Linked DNA regions of Homo sapiens: region 2 is linked to region 1. The links are contacts of gene promoters, found by promoter capture Hi-C in human tissues and cell types (Jung and others, 2019). All regions are on one chromosome and are shown on one strand. Each heading gives the region's core, a stretch centred on a gene start or on the middle of the fragment in contact. The rest is flanking DNA. Distances are from core to core; before and after follow the strand shown. Region 1 holds the start of SYNDIG1L (synapse differentiation inducing 1 like). Region 2 overlaps YLPM1 (YLP motif containing 1).

What was found. Contacts are between HindIII fragments. The study calls those that stand out against the background at their distance.
Region 2: a fragment that was not itself captured here is called in contact with the fragment with the promoter of SYNDIG1L in region 1 in 1 of the 25 tissues and cell types used here (mesenchymal stem cells).

Annotation. Positions count from the first base shown.
Region 1 is chr14:74,424,394-74,427,694 of GRCh38, forward strand. It overlaps SYNDIG1L (synapse differentiation inducing 1 like), which reads right to left and starts at 1,817. Exons shown (of 4, transcript NM_001105579.2): 1 at 1,519-1,817. The HindIII fragment of the contact is 14,133 bases long and covers 1-3,301 here.
Region 2 is chr14:74,795,735-74,799,174 of GRCh38, forward strand. It overlaps YLPM1 (YLP motif containing 1), which reads left to right. Exons shown (of 21, transcript NM_019589.3): 5 at 1,846-3,440. Among named protein-coding and RNA genes, the nearest start is that of YLPM1, 34 kb to the left of the region's middle. The HindIII fragment of the contact is 5,826 bases long and covers 1-3,440 here.

The sequences.
Region 1 (3,301 bases), core at 567-3,066:
ATTACCGAGTCCTTACTATCTTCCAGGTGCTGTTGGGGAGGGGGTCATGAAGGGGGACAAAGAGATGAAAACAACACAATTCCTGCCTTCAGGGAGCTCTTTCCCTAGATCTGTGGTTCTTAGGGAGAAAAAATAAAAACCGGTGAGTCAGACTCTTACCTTATATTATCTCCTATAGGTGATGATGGAAGAGGAGAAGAAGGGAGGGCACACTTTTTTCTCCTTAAGGTTTATAAGTTTGGCTTCACTGATTCTGGGACCCCACGGTGGCCAAGGACAAAGGGAGACATGGCCATGCTGGGAGAAGAGGGGGTAGGGGTGACAATAATCAGGTCACTGACAGCAGGCCTGGCTAGGGGTTGGGAACAGTGACAGCAGCGCACACTGGTATGGAGATGTACAGGTGGCAAGCCTCCAATCAGGTGCATTGTTTTTCATTGGGCCCCAAGGCAGTTCCCTGAGGTGAGCAGAGCGGTGACCTTATCCCCACTCCAGGGGTGAGGAGGATGAGGTTGAAAGAGCTTAGGGAACTAGCTAAAGCCAGTAAATGCCAGCACCCAGCCAGGAACTCCTACTCTAGTGCTCTTTCTACCCCTGGGGGTAGGGAAGTTGTGTTGGGTTGGAGGGTGGGGATAAAGCAGTAGAAAGAAGTGGTCAGCCACAAGGGTAGGCCAATTCTTCCTCCACGCAGTTTTATTTTGATCGCTACATTCTGCCAGTCATAGAGAACTCTGCTCTGAAGAACTAGAAGCACTTTGCAGGCCTGAATGAGCTCATTCAGCGCACTCTTGCCAGAAAGAGAGAGAACTCCTAATGGAGGCTCTGTCTAGGGTCACCAGCACATAATAGAAAACAGGACCCAGGTTCCCTGACTCTTTGCCCTCATGCGCCAAGAGATGTGATGCAAATCCTGCCTGCTTCTGTGAGCGTCAAGAGTGTCATAGGAAAAAAAATTGAGGTATCTTCCAGGACCTCCTTCCTTCCCTGAAGAAATGGGTTAATCCATCCTAAGGGGCCTTGGCCCAAGAGCCAATCCCTTGGCCCAAGAGCCATTTCCAGGGCAGAGAAATCTCAGAGCAGGGGGTACCACAGCCACCTCAGTCACCTGGGTGAACAGGTTTGGGTGCGAGAAGAGGGGAGCTTAGTGAAGCCTGCTCAGATTTTGCTAGTGTCGCAAAACCTTGGTGGGGACTGGGGTACCAGGGAGTCTGAGGCTCTAATCAGTATTTCTTGCCGTCAGTAGGCAGGATGTCTAGGAGCTGCCTGAGGTCAGGGTCAAGGCCTGATGTTGTGAGGTTATGGTGTCTTGACCCCAGTTCATCAGCCCCCTCCCAGCACCCCCAGCCTGCAGGATGAGGGGTAGGGAGGGACGAAGTGCAAGCCTTGGCGGAGCGCAAGGTGCGGCCAAGCAGGGAGTCAGAGCCCCTAGCCCCGAGAGGGCTCCCGTGCCCTCCCCAGCTCACTCCCCGCTCCGTGCCTAGCTCTGCGCTCCCGCGGCGCCCCCAGACCGCCCCTTACCTGTCCCGCCGCGGACGGTCCCGCCTCCTCCGCGGGGCTCGGGGGCTCGGCATGGGCCGGTGAGCGACGGCGCCCCCGCCTCGCGGTCGCGGTGGAACTCCCAGGAGGGCTCCCCTGCTCTCGTCCCCGCGTCCCTGAGCAGCCGCCGCTTCAGCACCGCGGACAGCTCCCGCCCGCAGCCCGCCGCCGCCGCCCGCCCCGCCCCGCGCGGTCCCGGGAGCCCCGCATCCTGGCCGGGCCCCGCCGCCGCCGCCGCCGCGCAGCCCTCGGCCCGGCCCGAGGCGGCTCCGCGCCGACTTGGGAGAGCAGCGAGGAGGGTCCCCCTCCTTCCCGCCTCCCGCCGCCGCCGCCTCCCTCTCGCTTCCGTGCTCCGTGCTCCCTTCCACGCTCCGGAATCAGCCCACCAGGCACTCCGGACCCGGCTCCGGGGCGGGGCGGGGCGGGAAGTCGGGGGAGCCCGGAGGAGGCGGCGAAGCGAGGGGCGCGCAGCTGGAACCCGCGTACCCGCTTCCTGGAGCCGAGCCCTCTTTCCCAGCCCTTCTCTCCCCTCCTCCCGCGCACCCCAGAGCGATGGGAGGCCCTTGGGCTTCTTGAAGCATTTTGGAGCTCCTAGGCTCCAAAGCCAGCCCTGAGTTTTTAACATTGATCTGCCCTAAAAAGAAAAACAAACAGAAAGCATTTATTGAGCACCTACTATATACCAGATACCAAGCCCGATAATGTGTTTAATCAACATAAGCTCATTTAATTTTCTTAACAACTCTATTAGGCAATATAGTGCCCCTCTTCCCCTCTTCCCCTCCCCCTGCCCCCCTCCCCCTGTCCCCCTTCCCCCTCCAATTTTGCAGACCAGGACGCTGGGCTCACAAGGATGAAATCCTGTGATTTGGAGATTCAGTGCTGTGCTGGGAAGGGCACAGGTTTTAAAGCTCATGGACCTAAGTTTTGGTCCTAGGGTCCCACTTGCTGTATAACCTCGAGCAAGTTACCTAACCTCTTAAAGCCTCAGGTTCCTCATGGACAAAGTGAGGGGTCATATGAGGACAAAATGAGATGACATACGTGACACATTGGCACTCAATAGGCACTCAGTGAGTGAGCGTCCCCCTGAGTTTTCCCAGCAAGAGCCCTGAGATCCGAATGCAGGCCTTTTGGCTGCTTTGTCTCCACCCTGTGCTGCTCTTTATCCACCTCCACCTGCGTTTCCTTTTTTTTTTTTTTTTTTGCATGGGGATGCCCTATCTTGAGTGTTACCAGTGGATGAACCTATTCTTCGAGCGCCTTCACAAGGTCTTGAGTCTCACCAAAGTCCCAGGAGGTCAGGAGGAGAGAGTATTCTCATTTTCTGAAGGTAAGTGTGGGTTTGCAAAGTAAACCACAGAGCAGGCTGCAGCTGGGGCTGGAAGACACAAGGAACCAGGGTCTGGCAGTGGGATTCCACTAGCATCCACTAGTCTCCTAGCATCCAGCTGAGGATGCTATAGCACATAGCATGGTGGACTCCAGGACTCCTTCACTCCCACAGGATGTGGGCATCTGGCACAGTTCGGTGTAGCTCCTAGAGTGCACAGTAGGAGCCAGGAGCAAGTCCACATCATGGGGCTTGGGTCTCCTTCCCTTCAAGGCAGGACAGAGAACTCCCTTATCCTGGGGTCTGTCTCAGGGCTGGTATTGGTGTTTAACTTGTTGGGTGCTAAATATATTATTGCTCTTCCTGTCTCTGCCCCATTAGTGGATAATGCAGTGAGAAGCCCCCTGAGGCCAGCAAGGGTCTTGGACCACT
Region 2 (3,440 bases), core at 492-2,991, 370 kb after region 1:
GACTATATTTAGTGGCTCTAAGTGCTTATAAGGTAACACCAAACTCCTTAACCAGCTGAATTAATTTATCTGTTATAATCGAGATCCAAGTCAGATGGCTTTAACAAGTTAGAAGTTTATTCTCTCTTAGGACTTAGGTGATGGTTCAGGAATCCAGTTCCTTCTGATTTACCTGGTCTTGGATATTTCACCACCATGTCAGAACCAGCATGAAAAAGGAAATGGAGAAGAGGAGGATGTGCCCTTTCCTTTAAGGGGACAACCCAGAAGATGTGCAAATCATTTTCACTCTCAGCTCCTTGGCCAGAACTTGGCTGCCAGTTCTAGCTGCAAGAGATATTGAGAAAGAGAGTCTTGTCTGGGGGGCCTTGTGTCTAGCTACAGGAGGCCTGTTATTGTAGATAAGTGGGGAATGGGTATTGGAAGACCACCAGTAGTCTCTGCCACATGAGGCATACACAATCTTCTGGAGAGTGATCCTCGCTTACTTCTTTACCTTATTTTTTAGTGTGCTGCTTTTCCACATTTCCCTCTTTATCAGCTCTCTTGACTCTGTTTCCCCTTTGCATTAGCCATGCTAAACTATTTGCACTTCCAAACATGCTCTGCTGATACACGTTTCTCCGCCTTTCCTCTTGCTTCCTTAGCTTGAGGTGCCCTTGCCACATACTTTCCTCATCTCCAACTCATTCTGTCAGCTTGATTTCAGAGAAGTTGTCTTTTAAAACTCAACATAAGCCTCTCCAATTCTGTTTTCCTTATTGTGTACACATAGACTTGAGACATTACATCTCTTGGTACTTATTTACACTTAGATTATCTTTATATTTTGTTGTAAACTCTTTGAGGGCACATATGACATTTTATTCTTGTATCTCTTGGATGTAATGTAATGCCTGACAGATAAAGGATGTGTACTTTCTTTTTACTGGATGAGCAAGTGGGTTTATAGCAAAAATAACTGTGCAGACTTTTTAAAATGTCAGAACCTACTCTTAAGATAGGGCTACTGTTTCTTTTTTTTTTTTTTTTAACTTTTGTCAATCAAAATGTTAGTGCTAGCTCTAACAATATTTATAATCATCCTATATTTTCTTGTTAGTCTTTTCATATTTAGTTTTTAGTTACAATTTAATTCCAGAAGTGCTCAGAGTTAGTTATGGAATTTGTTAATTTTTTTCTCTTTAAAATGAGCAGCCTTTTCTGTCTCCTAAGGCACAGTATTTATAATTGCTTTTTTTTTTTTTTTTTTTTGAGACGGAGTCTCACTCTTGTCACCCAGTCTAGAGTGCAATAGCGTGATCTCAGCTCACTGCAACCTCTGCCTCCCAGGTTCAAGTGATTCTCCTGCCTCAGCCTCCCAAGCAGCTGGGATTTGCAGGCACCTGCCACCACACCTGGCTAAATTTTTGTATTTTTTTTTTTTTTTTTTTTTTAGTAGAGATAGGGTTTCACCATGTTGGCCAGGCTGGTCTTGAACTCTTGATCTCAGGTGATCTGCCCATCTCTGCCTCCCAAAGTGCTGTGATTACAAGTGTGAGCCACTGCGCCAGGCCTGTAATTGCTTTTTAACCGTTCAGTATATCAGTGACTTGCGGCAGGAGATGTGTTGAAGTAAGTTAGATAATACTGACATGATTTCCAAAGCCTGTCCTAAGACCTTCTGAGCACTGCCACCTTAACATACTGGTTCTAAGATATTGGTGACTCAGGATTAATTTAATGACTGAAAAGAGTCATTGTTGTAAACAAATTCTAAGGCAAGAGTGCCTTAAATATTCTTACATGGAGAATTTTTTTTTTCTGCTTTACTGTCTTGAGTAATATCTTTTGTTTTACTTGTAGATTTGATGGTCCTCGAAGATTTGAGGATTTAGGGTCAAGGTGTGAAGGACCGAGACCCAAAGGGCCTCGTTTTGAAGGAAATCGCCCCGATGGGCCAAGACCCAGATATGAAGGTCACCCAGCAGAGGGCACTAAAAGCAAGTGGGGAATGATTCCCCGGGGGCCAGCATCTCAATTTTATATTACCCCCAGTACATCCCTAAGTCCTCGACAGAGTGGACCACAGTGGAAAGGCCCCAAACCAGCTTTTGGACAGCAGCATCAGCAGCAACCTAAGTCACAAGCAGAACCTCTTTCAGGAAACAAAGAACCATTAGCAGACACCAGTAGTAACCAGCAGAAGAATTTTAAAATGCAATCAGCTGCATTTTCCATTGCTGCAGATGTAAAGGATGTCAAGGCGGCTCAGTCAAATGAGAATCTAAGCGACTCTCAACAAGAGCCACCTAAAAGTGAAGTCTCGGAAGGGCCCGTAGAGCCCTCTAATTGGGACCAGAATGTTCAAAGTATGGAGACTCAAATCGACAAAGCCCAAGCTGTTACTCAGCCTGTACCCCTTGCGAATAAGCCTGTACCTGCTCAATCTACTTTTCCTTCAAAAACAGGGGGGATGGAGGGAGGAACAGCAGTAGCAACATCATCATTAACAGCAGATAATGATTTTAAACCTGTGGGTATTGGTCTACCCCATTCAGAAAACAACCAAGATAAAGGCCTGCCTCGGCCAGATAATAGAGATAATAGATTAGAAGGCAATAGAGGCAACAGCTCATCTTACAGAGGTCCTGGGCAAAGCAGAATGGAAGACACACGGGATAAAGGTCTAGTAAACAGAGGTCGCGGCCAGGCAATCAGTCGAGGCCCAGGATTGGTCAAGCAAGAAGACTTTCGGGATAAGATGATGGGTAGAAGAGAAGATAGTCGAGAGAAGATGAACAGAGGAGAAGGTAGCCGGGACAGAGGGTTGGTGAGGCCTGGAAGCAGTCGGGAGAAAGTGCCAGGTGGTCTTCAAGGGAGCCAGGACAGGGGTGCAGCTGGCAGCCGAGAAAGGGGACCACCTCGGAGGGCTGGCAGTCAGGAGAGGGGACCTCTTCGAAGGGCTGGGAGTAGAGAGAGAATACCACCCCGAAGAGCTGGGAGCAGGGAGAGAGGACCACCTCGAGGGCCTGGCAGTCGAGAAAGGGGACTGGGAAGATCAGATTTTGGTCGTGATAGAGGTCCATTCAGACCAGAACCAGGAGATGGTGGGGAAAAAATGTATCCATATCACCGGGATGAGCCTCCTAGGGCTCCATGGAACCATGGAGAAGAGCGAGGGCATGAAGAGTTTCCATTAGATGGTAGAAATGCTCCAATGGAACGAGAAAGACTCGATGACTGGGATAGAGAGAGATACTGGAGAGAATGTGAACGTGACTATCAAGATGATACACTAGAGCTCTATAACAGAGAGGACAGGTTCTCAGCACCACCATCTCGGTCTCATGATGGAGATAGGCGAGGCCCTTGGTGGGATGATTGGGAGAGAGACCAGGATATGGATGAGGACTACAATAGGGAAATGGAAAGGGACATGGACAGGGATGTGGATCGGA